Regions from separate parts of the Homo sapiens genome. Here region 2 is linked to region 1. Evidence: promoter capture Hi-C in human tissues and cell types (Jung and others, 2019). All regions are on one chromosome and are shown on one strand. Each heading gives the region's core, a stretch centred on a gene start or on the middle of the fragment in contact. The rest is flanking DNA. Distances are from core to core; before and after follow the strand shown.

What was found. Contacts are between HindIII fragments. The study calls those that stand out against the background at their distance.
Region 2: a fragment that was not itself captured here is called in contact with the fragment with the promoter of PPP1R3G in region 1 in 1 of the 25 tissues and cell types used here (aorta).

The regions. Positions count from the first base shown.
Region 1 is chr6:5,082,780-5,089,898 of GRCh38, forward strand. It overlaps PPP1R3G (protein phosphatase 1 regulatory subunit 3G), which reads left to right and starts at 2,562. Exons shown (of 1, transcript NM_001145115.3): 1 at 2,562-6,708. The coding sequence starts at 2,707. The coding sequence ends at 3,783. The region is part of intron 3 of LYRM4-AS1 (LYRM4 antisense RNA 1); the gene reads left to right. It also overlaps a transcript of LYRM4 not described here. RefSeq lists silencers at 1,544-1,613, 1,644-1,923, 2,334-2,513, 2,764-2,863, 3,004-3,053 and 1 more and an enhancer at 2,844-3,533. The HindIII fragment of the contact is 9,723 bases long and covers 1-4,593 here.
Region 2 is chr6:6,094,314-6,101,432 of GRCh38, forward strand. No RefSeq gene overlaps it. Among named protein-coding and RNA genes, the nearest start is that of MIR5683, 71 kb to the right of the region's middle. The HindIII fragment of the contact is 6,738 bases long and covers 232-6,969 here.

The sequences.
Region 1 (7,119 bases), core at 1,312-3,811:
CCCTCCCATCCTCAGCTCCGCCAGTTCCTCTGTGCTCTCTGCCCTCAGGCCACCCTGGCCTTCTTCCAGTCCAGCCCCCTGACACTCCCTCCAACAGAGCCTCTGCGTGGCCCAGCACGTTCTTCCTTGCAGTCCGAGCTGTTCCTTCCACCTCACCTTCCTCACAGGCCTCCTGACCAGGTCAGATACCACCTTCTCAGCATTGGCCACAGGGGCTGAGTTTGTATAGTGTTGGCCCCTCCCACGCACTGAGAGCTCCCCGGGGGTGGGACCTCTAGCATTTCCACCGCACAGAGGAGGGTGGGCCGGGGCTGGGACCAGTGCACCTGCATGACCCTGAGAGTGATGCCTCCTTAAATTCTATGCCCCAGCACCTCCCTCACCTCCTTCTCTGTCCTGGAGTGAGCATGTGCCCCCGTGAGGGTTGTAGCCCAAAGGGTCGCCACCACCTCAAAATCTCTTTGAAGTCTTATTTTATCTTTAAAATAGCTTGTGAATTTTGTATTTAACTCCATAATGTAGCAATGTGTATTTAAATGTAAAAGCAATGTCCTTCCCGAAATCAGAGTTGCTGCAGGAAGACAGGCCGTGTGCGCCTGGGGCCTCTTGGAGATGCCATGCCCAAGTCAAGACACAGTCATGGAATTCCACACTGGGCATAAAATGACCAGCAAGAGTCCAGCAAGGGGACCGGCAGGGCCCCCTTTACAGGACATCACTCCCAGCCCAGGCTTAGTAGTGATGGGGGAAATGTTTCCTCTAAGCTGCCTGGCTTCAAATCCCATGAAAGCCACCCTGTGGGGCCTTGGCGATGAGAAATCTTTCTGCAGTGTTGTGTCCTATATGTAGGCAGGAATGATGTGATTCCTATTTCATGGACAGGACATCCTGTAGGTGCTCAGTCAATCAATGTAAGCTCTTAACACGCTCCTCACCCACCATCTCTTTTGCCTGCCCTCTGCCAACATGGCTAAAACCCTGGCCCCTTTCAGTTCTGCCAAACCATGACATGTTTTAGTTATGAAGCCCCAATTAATTACGTTTCTTAATTAGTGGTTCTGTTTCTAGAATCCCCAACTTTCTATATAAGTAACTGAATACACATCCACATAGGTTTAAATACGGTCCCCAGAGCCCAGCATCAGCATCCCCTTGTTAGAAATACTTCCAGGCCCCAGCCCAAGCCCACTGAGTCACAAACGCTAGGGAGCTGGGAGCAGTGGGGGGCGCCTGTAATCCCAGCTACCTTAGAGGCTGAGGCGGGAGGACTGCTTGAGGCCGGGAATTTGAGACCAACCTGGGCAGCATAGCAAGACCCCTATCTCGAAAAAGTTAGAAAGAAGGAAACTCTGGGAGTGGGGCCCTGTGATGTGACAACGGGCCCCCGAGTGATGTCCGTGCATGCTGAAGTAGAATCACTGACTTAGATGGCCCTCAGGGTGGCCTTAAAACCAAAACAAGAAAAACACCACTTTTAGACGTTCCCCCAATCCCTAGGTACCACGACGCGCTTCCCCACCCCTCCCCGGCCTCAGGTTCGGGCCTTGGCCCCTGGCAAGGCCGGAGCAGCAGGGCGGTGACAGCGCAGTCCGGCGCGGGCCACGCCCCCACTCCCGGTGGGCGGGGAGGGTGCTTGGGGCGCTGGCGTCCGGTTGCGGTGGGAGGTGGTGCGTGCCGCGTGGGCGCCGGCCCCACGGGGCCCCCTCTCCGCCCTCCCTGCGGGATCCCGGGGCGCGGACTCGCGGGCGCGTCGGGCGGGACAGGGGGAGGGGCGGGACGTGCTCCCGGGCCTGGCGCGAATGGCCTCCGGCCGCTCTCGGCTGCGGGCCATGGCCGCTCCCCGGCGCGTCCCCACACGGTCCCCGCCCCAGTCTGGCCGCAGCCCACCCCGCGCCGCCACTGGGCAGATGGGGGCGGCGGCTCCTGCCTCCCGGCTTTCGGAAGAGCAGAGCGGAGCGCGCCTGACCGAGTCAGGCTTCCGAGTGGGATTGGAACCCGGGGCGCCCTGAAGTTTGGGGAAAGCAGGAGCAGAAGGGAAGGGATGCGCTCCCCGCTCTCCGGCGGCGCGGAATGGGCCTCCTTCCAGCCTCTGCGTAGGCAAGATTTCCCCAGTTGCGCGCTGCACCGGGGACTCCCCAGCCCGTGAGGCAGCCAAGAGGAGAGCGCTCAGTGACCCTCTGGGGGCAGAGCCGTCAGGCCAAGTTCATGGGCAGGAAGACTTTGTGCACGTGGGGGTCTCTGAAGGTTGAGCGCGAGCTCTGCACCCCCACTTCGAGGCACTCAAGAAGCGGAACAGACGCGAGCCCCGCCGGGGGTGCGGGTGAGGGCTGCAGGGAGCCCGCGAACGACAGAAAGTCGCCCCCCGCATTCCACCGGAGCACTCGGGAACACGGCTTCCAGGTGTCCCAGCGGCCGCGCCTCCCCGCCCCCGGCCCTCCCCCGTCGCGGGCAGGTTCAACCGGGAGGCGGCGTGGCCCCGGAGCCGGCCCCAGGCCCGCATCCTCCTCCCACTTCGCCCTGGGCAGCCGCAGCTAAAAGCCGGAGGCTCCAAAGTGGAACTACGTTGTCTTGTCGAGCCTGGGGCGACTCGCCTCGGGGAGGGCGAGCCTGAACTGCAGCCCTGCGCTCCTTCCACGGCCCGAGGAGTTAGTTAAGTCTCCAGAGGGGCCCGGTTCGGCCCGAGCAAGTCCAGGGGCGAACGGCGTCATGGAGCCCATAGGGGCGCGGCTAAGTTTGGAGGCGCCGGGACCAGCGCCCTTCCGAGAGGCCCCGCCGGCCGAGGAGCTGCCCGCCCCGGTGGTCCCCTGTGTGCAGGGTGGCGGCGACGGCGGTGGCGCTTCGGAGACCCCGAGTCCTGACGCTCAGCTAGGGGATAGGCCCCTGTCCCCGAAGGAAGAGGCCGCCCCCCAGGAGCAGGAGGAGCTGCTGGAATGCCGCCGCCGCTGCCGCGCGCGCTCCTTTTCCTTGCCCGCCGACCCCATCTTGCAGGCGGCCAAGTTCCTGCAGCAGCAGCAGCAACAGGCGGTGGCACTGGGCGGCGAGGGGGCGGAGGACGCACAGCTCGGCCCGGGCGGCTGCTGCGCCAAGTGCAAGAAGCGGGTGCAGTTCGCGGACACGCTGGGGCTAAGCCTGGCCAGCGTGAAGCACTTCAGCGAGGCGGAGGAGCCGCAGGTGCCGCCCGCCGTGCTCTCGCGCCTCCGAAGCTTCCCTATGCGTGCCGAGGACCTGGAGCAGCTCGGGGGGCTGCTGGCCGCGGCGGCAGTGGCCGCGCCCCTTTCAGCGCCGCCTTCCCGGCTCCGGCCGCTCTTCCAGCTCCCGGGGCCGAGCGCCGCGGCCGAGCGTCTGCAGCGGCAGCGCGTGTGCCTGGAGCGCGTGCAGTGCTCGACGGCCTCGGGCGCTGAGGTGAAGGGCTCCGGCCGGGTGCTCAGCTGCCCTGGGCCCAGGGCCGTGACCGTGCGCTACACCTTTACCGAGTGGCGCTCCTTCCTGGACGTGCCGGCTGAGCTGCAGCCCGAGCCGCTGGAGCCACAGCAGCCAGAGGCACCGTCTGGGGCCTCCGAGCCAGGGTCCGGGGATGCCAAGAAAGAGCCAGGCGCCGAGTGCTTCCACTTCTCGCTGTGCCTGCCCCCGGGCCTGCAGCCTGAGGACGAAGAGGACGCCGACGAGCGCGGCGTCGCGGTCCACTTCGCTGTCTGCTACCGCTGCGCGCAGGGCGAGTACTGGGACAACAACGCGGGCGCCAACTACACGCTGCGCTACGCGCGCCCTGCGGACGCGCTCTGAGCCTGGAGAGTTTCGAAGAGCCGTGGGGCGGGGTTGATTAGCACGTGGAGCTCGGGCTGCCGCCTCAAGGAACTTGCTGGGACGCTTTGCTGAGCGTGGCGAGTCTGGCGTGAGGGGCGCGTGGAGGGAAAGGAGGGAGACTTTGAACCGTCGACTCGCACCCCCGCAGACAAGTGAGCGAGCTTAGAGAGCCCGGGCAATGCTCCGAAAGCCTCTGACCTCAGTCTTCTCGTCCGTTTGACCTTCCTACAAGGCCTCTAGAATTCCCAGCCTGCGTCAGAATAGGAAGAAACTTCCAAGGCCCGGAGCAGCTGCCTCCAAGAAAAAGGCTCCCAACTCCCGGGCATGGTTCTAAGGCCTTGGGATTGGTTTTTAACTCTAAATATCATATTGTAGCCCTTGCAGTTTGCTGGAGACCCCTAGGGAAAGAACAAAGCGTCCTGCCACGGTGCACCAGAGGAAGGTGCCACGGACTGTGGGTGCACGCGTGGGACCTTTACACCCCAACCTATTTCTCAGAGAAAACCCTTCGGGGCTGGGCCAGGCCACCCTTTTCTTTTGACTGAGATGTGGGTAATGTGTGCCCAGACTTGACGTTGTTTATTGTGCGACATTGTGTACAAATGTCCTTTATAAAAGTAAAGGCCACTCGCACCCCCTTTTACGCTGTACTCTGAATTTTGGCTTTCGTGAGTTTGGGGAGGCATTGGCAGTCGGCCGATCTTTGTCAGCTGATGATGTGCGCACTTTAACAATCCTTAAACAACAGCCTACAAATTCCTCCCCTTCGTTCCTTCCTCTCTACTGCGAAAGGGCCCAAACTTCCCATGTGCTTTAAAATGTTCTGTAGAAAGTGTTCCGTCCCCCTCCGAATTAAGACGTTTGGTGAATTGAAATGCCAGTCCTCGGGCAGGCCCTGGCTGTGATCTGCGAGAGCCGGGCACGCACGCCCCGGCGCCCTTTGTGTAGGCAGAGCACACTGTTAGGAGACTTGCCGGGCCATTAGCAGTCAGAGAAGCTGGGCCCTTTTAGTCGCTGGACTGCCAGCGCAGGGGATGGGGGATGGGAAAGTGGCTTTCTGTTCCTCTCAGAGCCACAGTGGGGAGTGGTGACTTGATGGAAGAGGAGGCATGCCCAGCGAGTCAGTGCTGCGCAGACGCAGATGGCCACCTCTGCAGGCCCGTTGGGTGGGGTATGGACGGCCTTGGTCGCTGTGCTGGCTGTGGATGCCAGGATGATGTGGCCCTCTGTGCATGGGTGGGCAGGAGGGCATCCCGAGTAAGGTCTGTCGCCCCTTGACTCTGCCTCAGTGATTTCCCTTTTTTTAAGTCTTCCCATTTTCCAGCACATGGCGAGTACAGTCAGTCGTTTTAGGGATGGTAGTCTCTAAGGAGGGACAGTTTCACTGTTGCTTGATAGAACAGGGCTGGGCATACGTACATTTGGCCCATGGGCCAAATTTGGCACACAGCTTATTCTTGTAGGGCCTGTGACCTAAGAATAGTTTTTACATTTTTATTTTTAATTTAATTTTCTTATTATTATTTTTCGAGACGGAGTTTCACTCTTGTCGCCCAGGCTGGAGTGCAATGTGCGATCTTGGCTCATTGCAACCTCCGCCTCCCAGGTTCAAGCGATTCTCCTGCCTCAGCCTCCAGAGTAGTTGGGAGTACAGGCATCTGCCACCACACCTGGCTAATTTTTGTATTTTTGGTAGAGACAGGGTTTCACCATGTTGGCCAGGCTAGTCTTGAACTCCTGACCTCAGGTGATCCACCCGCCTTGGCCTCCCAAAGTGCTAGGATTATAGGCGTGAGCCACCTCACCTGGCCTTACATTTTTAAATTGTTGAAAAAAATTCAAAAGAAAGTACTATTTGGTGGCACGTGAGAATTATATAAAATATATATTTCAGTGTTCACAAATCAGGTTTTACTGGAACACAGCCGTGCACACTCATTTCTGTCTTCTCTGTGCTGCTTCCATGCTACCGCAGCAGAGTGGAGTAGACACAGCAGAGACCAGATGGCAAAGTGTAAAATATTTACTATCTGGCCCTTTTACAAAAGGCTGGCCAACCCCTGCTCTAGGGAAGTAGTGTTTTTTAAACACAATATGCTGACAATTATAGTTAATAAAGCATTTAGACTTTAGTGAGCTTTTGCCACTTGAAATAAACCCCCTTTGGGTAAAGGTAAAGCTTTATATGACTCTCAGTAATCTTGTTTAGAATAAACACGAAAATGTGAAAAGTGCGGTTATCATTGTGTCAGGCAGGGGAATCTACCTGTTGCCTTCTTTCACCTAAAAAAATAGTAACACATCAGTGCAACTGAAACATAGCACCCGTTTGAATTGGCTTCAAACTACAAAGCTGCCAGATATTTCTCTGTGCTTCAAAATGTGGCATCTTACACAATGGAAGTATTTAGTTTGAACTTTGGGTTGGAGATATCCCTTTGACTATGGCAGTGTTTCCCAAAGTAAACTGATCATAGGAAAAAAATAATTTATTGACAGCAAGCCATCAGGAGTTAACATATTACAATTTAGACTTTTAAAAATGGTCAATGGTCATATCAATGAACTAATGAATACTTAATTCATATATGCTTATAAAAACTTTGACGAAAAATAAATGATAAAATGAAACAATTTTTCTGTTACTAAATATAAAAGCTATGAAGCCTTCTGATGCATCATCAGGTAATCTTGGTCTGATATACCATTTCTTAAAAGTACATTATTGCATAACCATATTTTTCCGATATATTTATAAATACATTAATTTTTAAGATATTGACAGTATACATATGCTATAACATTGTTTGAAAATGCTTGTTTGTGGGGCAATAAAGCAACATTTTGAATTGTTTTGAATTACTTAAAATTAAATGAGGAGCCCAATATAATGATTCAAACAGAGATCTTTGTGTCTAGTATCCTTTAAAATGGTAACCCATTAAATCTGGACTCAAACAAGAGAAATAGATTTTTAGTGGTATGTACAGAAGACTTTCTATTCTGTCATAACACCATTACTGATTTTCAAAACTATATTTTAAAGTTCAAATGATTCATTTTAAAAGAAACTATTTCATAATATAATGAGCATCCAGTATGGCTGCTAGGAAAGGAAACCTAGTTTTGCTCTCCTCCCAGTCTCAGAGACTAGTGCGTCAAATGTTCATAATTTGGTAAAATATTTTAAACAGCCCAGTATTTCACCAATGTGTGTAGCCTTTCCAAAGCATTAGCACTGGCAATCTTTTGAATGTCCATTTTGTTTTATAAAAGTGCCAACTTCTCATTGTAGACTAATAGCAAACATTATGC
Region 2 (7,119 bases), core at 2,351-4,850, 1.0 Mb after region 1:
TCACAAGGAGGCAACAATTTTTCTGATTTATACCAACATAGATTAGTTTTGCCTATTCTTTAATTTCATTTAAATAGAATTGTATTGTGTCTGACTTTTTTTTGCTCAGCAAAATGATTTCGTGATTCATTCATGTTGTCGCATATGCATGTATTAATAGTTTGCTCCTTTTTATTGCTGAGGGTTATTCCTTGTATGAATGTAACCACAATTTGCTTATTTATTCTTATCTTGAGAATATTTTCCCCAACCCACCCAGTTTTATTGCTCTTATGAAGAAAGCTGCTATTGAAATTCATGTACAATACTTTTTATGTACATTTATTTTTCATTTCTCTTGGATAAATACCTAGAAGTAGAATTGCTGGTTCATAGGAGGTATATATATATATATATATATATATATATATACACACACACACACGATATATATATACACGATATATATATATATACACGATACACGGACGCCTGTAGTCCCAGCTACTCGGGAGGCTGAGGCAGGAGAACGGCGTGAACCCTGGAGGCAGAGCTTGCAGTGAGCCGACATCGCGCCACTGCACTCCAGTCTGGTCGACAGAGCGAGACTCCGTCTCAAAAACAAAAACAAAAACAAAAACAAAAAACAAAACTCATATGGAACAGAATAACTTATAGTGAAAGATTAAACTCTCCCCTATTATAATTGGAAACAAAGCAAGTATATCCTCTCTTGCTTGTATATATCCACATATATATATATCCACACAATATATATACGTGTGTACATATATATATATCCATACACATATATATGTGTGTGTGTATATATATATATATATATATATATATATATATATATATATATATATACTGAATGCTAAGAGAAATGTCCAAATATTCTCCTATTTTTTTTCTAAAAGCTTTATAGTTTTAAGTTTTACGTTTAGGTCTATGATTCATCCCAAATTAATTTTTGTAAATGTTATGAGTTATGAGTTAAGTTTCATTTTGTTCCGTGCAAGGATACCTAGTGGTTCCAGCATCATTTATTAAAAAGAACTTCTTTCTCCATTGAATTGCTTTGGTCAAAATTTAATTTACCATATATATGTGGGTCTCTTTCTGGACTCTCTTATTTTATTCTGTTGATTTATAGGCCTATCTTTACACCAACATCTTGATTACTGTAGCTATATAGTCAGCCTTAAAATCAGATTATATAAATATATATTCTAACTTTGTTCTTTCTTTCAAGATGGTTTTGTGGATTTTAAGTCCTTTACATTGCCATATAAATTTTAGCATCAGCTTGTGAATTTCTATGTGATCCCATAAGGAATTTTTATTGAAATTGAATTCAATATATAGATCAACTTGAGGAGAATTGATTTAAGAATATTAAGACTTCCAAACCATGAACATTGTATATCTTTCCATCATTTAGGTCTTTAATTTTTCCTCAATACTGTCTTATAGTTTTTAGTGTAGAGATCTTTCTATATTTTGTGAAATTTATCTTTAATTATCTTATGCCTTAAAAGTGACTGTAAATAGATTTTAGAAACATTTTATTTTAGAAATTTTCTTGCTAGTGTATAGAAACACATTTCATTTTTGTATAAAGACCTTGTATCTTATGACTTTATTAAATTCACTTAACAGATTTAGTAGGTTTTTAATTTGCAAATTCTTTGGGATTTTGTAAGCGGAAGTCATGTCATCTATGAATAAAGGCATTTTTACTTTTTCTGTTTTAATTTATATGCCTTTTATTATTTTTTATTGCCCAAGTTAGGACCCCCATTTACAATGTTAAATAGATGCAGCAAGAGAGGATATACTTGCTTCGTTTCCAATTATAATAGGGGAGAGTTTAATCTTTCATTGTAAGTTATTCTGTTCCATATGAGTTTTGTTTTTTGTTTTCGCTTTTGTTTTTGAGACGGAGTCTCGCTCTGTTGACCAGACTGGAGTGCAGTGGCGTGATGTCGGCTCACTGCAAGCTCTGCCTCCAGGGTTCACGTCGTTCTCCTGCCTCAGCATCCCGAGTAGCTGGGACTACAGGTGTCCGCCACTACGCCGGGCTAATTTTTTGTATTTTTAGCAGAGACGGGTTTCACCGTGTTAGCCAGGACGGTCTTGATCTCCTGACCTCGTGATCCACCTGCCTCGGCCTCCCAAAGTGCTGGGATTACAGGCGTGAGCCACCGTGCCCGGCCCCATGTGAGTTTTTATAAGGTTGAGGAAGTTTGTCCCATTCCTACTTTGCAAATTAAAAAAATATATACATATTACCAGGGGTTTAGTTTGGCCAAGTGCCTTTTCTGTCTTTAGCGAGATGATCATATGTTTCTGGTTTGTTTGTTTTTTTTGTGACGTAGTTTTGCTCTTGTTGCCCAGGCTGGAGTGCAATGGCACGATCACAGTTCACTGCAAACTCCGCCTCCCAGGTTCAAGCGATTCTCCTGTGTCAGCCTCCCAAGTAGCTGGGATTACAGGCACCTGCCACCATGCCCGGCTAATTTTGTAGTTTTAGTAGAGACAGGGTTTCTCCATTTTGGTCGGGCTGGTCTCGAACTCCCGACCTCAGGTGATCTGCCCACTTTGGCCTCCCAACGTGCTGGCATTACAGGCGTGAGCCACTGCAACCCGCCATCATTTGTTGTTTCTCCTTAATTATATTAATGTGTAGATTTGCACATTGATTGATTCCCAAATGTTAAAGCAAATTTGCATTCCTTAAAAAAACTCTACTTAGTTGTGATATATTACCTTCTTTGTATATTTCTGGATTTGATTTACTAATATTTTGTTAAGGATTTTTGTGTCTATATTTATGAGGGATATTGGTCTACAATTTTATTTTTAAAAATTTCTTTGTCTGGTTTTCATATCAGGCTATTGCTGGCCTCATAAAATATGTTGAGAAGTATTCTATTTTACTATGTTTTCTAAAAAAGTTTGTGTAGAATTTGTGAATGTTTGATGAAATTTATTGGTAAAGTCAATGGTCTGGATTTATTTGTGTGTGTTTGAAAAGGCTTACTTACAAATTAAAGTTTTTGAGAAAATATAGGGTTATTTAGATTTTGTTTCTTCTCAAGTCAGTTTGGTAATTTGTGTTTTTCAATGTATTTGTTCATTTCATATAAGTTGTTAAATTTTTTGTCATGAAGTTGTTTTCCCCGCTTCTTTATTTTCCTTTATCTGTAAGATCTATAGTTATGTCTCCATTTTCTTTTCTGTTATTAATAATTTGTGACTTCTCTCCCTTTTCTTTGACCAATCTAGTAAGGATTTATCAATTTTATTAGTATTCTCTGAGAATCATCATATGATATTTTGATTTTAAAACATTGTCTATTTGCTATTTAATTTTTTTTTCTTTAACTTTTATTTTAGATTCAGGGTTAGACATGCAGGTTTGTTATACAAGTAAACTCGTGTCATGGGCGTTTGTTGTACAGATTATTTCATCACCCATGTACTAAATCTAGTACCCAATAGTTGTTTTTTTCTGTTCTTCTCCCTCCTCTCACCTTCCACCCTCAAGTAGGCCCCAATGACTATTGTTTCTGTCTTTGTGTTCATGTGTTCTCATCATTTAGCTCCCACTTATAAGTGAGAACACGTGGTATTTGGGTTTTTTTTTCATGCATTAGTTTGCTAAGAATGATGGCCTCCAGCTTCATCCATACTCCTGCAAAGGACATAAATTTATTCTTTTTTATGGCTGTGTAGTATTCCACAGTTTATATGTACCATATTTTCTTTATCTAGTCTACCATTGATTGGCATTTAGATTGAGTCCACATCTTTGCTATTGTGAATAGTGATGCAATGAATACATGCATGCATGTGTCTTTGTGGCAGAATGATTCATATTTCTTTGGGTACATACCCAGTTATAGGATTGCTGAGTTGAATGCTATTTCTGTTTTTAGCTCTTTGAGGAATTGCCACACTGCTTTCCACAATGGTTGAACTAATTTACACTCCCGTCAACAGTAGGTAAGCATTCTTTTTTTTTCCATAGCCTTTCCACCACCTGTTTGTTTTTTTTTAATAATAGTCATTCTGACTGGTGTGAGATGACATTTCATTGTGGTTTTGATGTACATTTCTCTAATTATCAGTGATATTGAGCCTTTTTTCATATGCTTATTGGCCATGTATATGTTTACTTTTGAAAAGTGCCCGTTCATGTCCTTTGTCCACTTTTTAGTGAGGTTGCTTTTTTTCTTGTAAATTCATTTAAGTTCCTTATAGATGCTGGATATTAGACTTTTGTCAGATGCATAGTCTGCAAATATTTTCTCCCATTCTGTAGGTTTTCTGTTTACTCTGTTTATAGTTTCTTTTGCTATGCAGAAGCTCCTAATTTGAATTAGATCCCATTTATCAATTTTTGCTTTTGTTGCGATTGCTTTTGGTGTTTTTGTCCTGAAATCTTTCCTAGTTCCTATGTCCAAAATAGTATTGCCTAGGTTGTCTTCCAGGGATTTCATAATTTTTAATATTATCCTTAATCCGTCTTTAGTTGATGTTTGTATATGGTATAAGGAAGGGTTCTAGTTTCCATTGTCTGCGTATAGCTAGCCAGTTTTCCCAGCACCACTTATGAAATAGGAAGTCCTTTACTCGCTGCTTGTTTTTGTCATCTTTGTGGAAGACCAGATGGTCGTAGGAGTGCAGCCTTATTTCTGGGCTCTCTATTCTGTTCCATTGGTCTATGTGTCTGTTTTTGTACCAGTACCACACTGATTTGGTTACTGTACCCTGTAATATAGTTTGAAGTCAGGTAATGTGATGCCGCCAGGTTTATTCCTCTTGCTTAGGATTGCCTTATTTATTAGAGCCCTTTTTTTGTTTCACATGAATTTGAAAATAGTTTTTCTAGATCTGTGAAGAACGTCACTGGGGCCGGGCACAGTGGCTCATGCTTGTAATCACAGCATTTTGGGAGGCCAAACTGGGCAGATCACCCAAGGTCAGGAGTTTGGACCAAGCTGGCCAGCATGGTGAAACCCCTTCTCTACTAAAAATACAAAAATTAGCCAGGCATGATGGCAGGTGCCTGTAATCCCAGCTACTTGGGAGGCTGAGGCAGGAGAATCGCTTGAACCGGGCTGGCAGAGGTAGCAGTGAACTGAGATCATGCCACTGCACTCCAGCGTGGGTGACAGAACGAGACTCCTCCTCAAAAAAAAAAAACTATGTCATCAGTAGTTTGATAGGAATAGCAATTAATCTGTAAATTGCTTTAGGAAGTATGGCCATTTAAACAATTTTAACAATATTGATTCTTTCTATCCACGAGCATGGAATGCTTTTCCATTTGTGTCTTCCCTGATTAATTTGAGCAAAGTTTATTATTATTATTATTATTATTATTATTATTATACTTTAAGTTTTAGGGTACATGTGCGCAATGTGCAGGTTTGTTACATATGTATACATGTGCCATGTTGGTGTGCTGCACCCATTAACTCGTCATTTAGCATTAGGTATATCTCCTAATGCTATCCCTCCCCCATCCCCCCACCCCACAACAGTCCCCGGAGTGTGATGTTCCCCTTCCTGTGTCCATGTGTTCTCATTGTTCAATTCCCACCTATGAGTGAGAACATGCGGTGTTTGGTTTTTCCTCCTTGCCATAGTTTTCTGAGAATGATGGTTTCCAGTTTCATCCATGTCCCTACAAAGGAAATGAACTCTTCATTTTTTCTGGCTGCATAGTATTCCATGGTGTATATGTGCCACATTTTCTTAATCCAGTCTATCATTGTTGGACATTTGGGTTGGTTCCAAGTCTTTGCTATTGTGAATAGTGCTGCAATAAACATACGTGTGCATGTGTCTTTATAGCAGCATTATTTATATCCTTTGGGTATATACCCAGTAATGGGATGGCTGGGTCAAATGGTATTTCAGTTCTAGATCCCTGAGGAATCACCACACTGAATTCCACAAGGGTTGAACTAGTTTACAGTCCCACCAACAGTGTAAAAGTGTTCCTATTTCTCCACATCCTCTCCAGCACTGGTTGTTGCCTGACTTTTTAATGATTGCCATTCTAACTGGTGTGAGATGGTATCTCATTGTGGTTTTGATTTGCATTTCTCTGATGGCCAGTGATGATGAGCATTTTTTCATGTGTTTTTTGGCTGCATAAATGTCTTCTTTTGAGAAGTGTCTGTTCATATCCTTCGCCCACTTTTTGATGGGGTCATTTGTTTTTTTCTTGTAAATTTGTTTGAGTTCATTGTAGATTCTGGATATTAGCCCTTTGTCAGATGAGTAGATTGTGAAAATTTTCTCCCATTTTGTAGGTTGCCTGTTCACTCTGATGGTAGTTTCTTTTGCTGTGCAGAAGCTCTTGAGTTTAATTAGATCCCATTTGTCAATTTTGGCTTTTGTTGCCATTGCTTTTGGTGTTTTAGACATGAAGTCCTTGCCCATGCCTATGTCCTGAATGGTAATGCCTAGGTTTTCTTCTAGGGTTTTTATGGTTTTAGGTCTAACATGTAAGTCTTTAATCCACCTTGAATTAATTTTTGTATAAGGTGTAAGGAAGGGATCCAGTTTCAGCTTTCTACCTATGGCTAGCCAGTTTTCCCAGTACCATTTATTAAATAGGGAATCCTTTCCCCATTGCTTGTTTTTCTCAGGTTTGTCAAAGATCAGATGGTTGTAGATATGTGGCATTATTTCTGGGGGCTCTGTTCTGTTCCATTGTTCTATATCTCTGTTTTGGTACCAGTGCCATGCTGTTTTGGTTACTGTAGCCTTGTAGTATAGTTTGAAGTCAGGTAGCGTGATGTCTCCGGCTTTGTTCTTTTGGCTTAGGATTGACTTGGTGATGCGGGCTCTTTTTTGGTTCCATATGAACTTTAAAGTAGTTTTTTCCAATTCTGTGAAGAAAGTCACTGGTAGCTTGATGGGGATGGCATTGAATCTATAAATTACCTTGGGCAGTATGGCCATTTTCACGATATTGCTTCTTCCTACCCATGAGCATGGAATGTTCTTCCATTTGTTTGTATCCTCTTTTATTTCTTTGAGCAGTGGTTTGTAGTTCTCCTTGAAGAGGTCCTTCACATCCCTTGTAAGTTGGATTCCTAGGTATTTTATTGT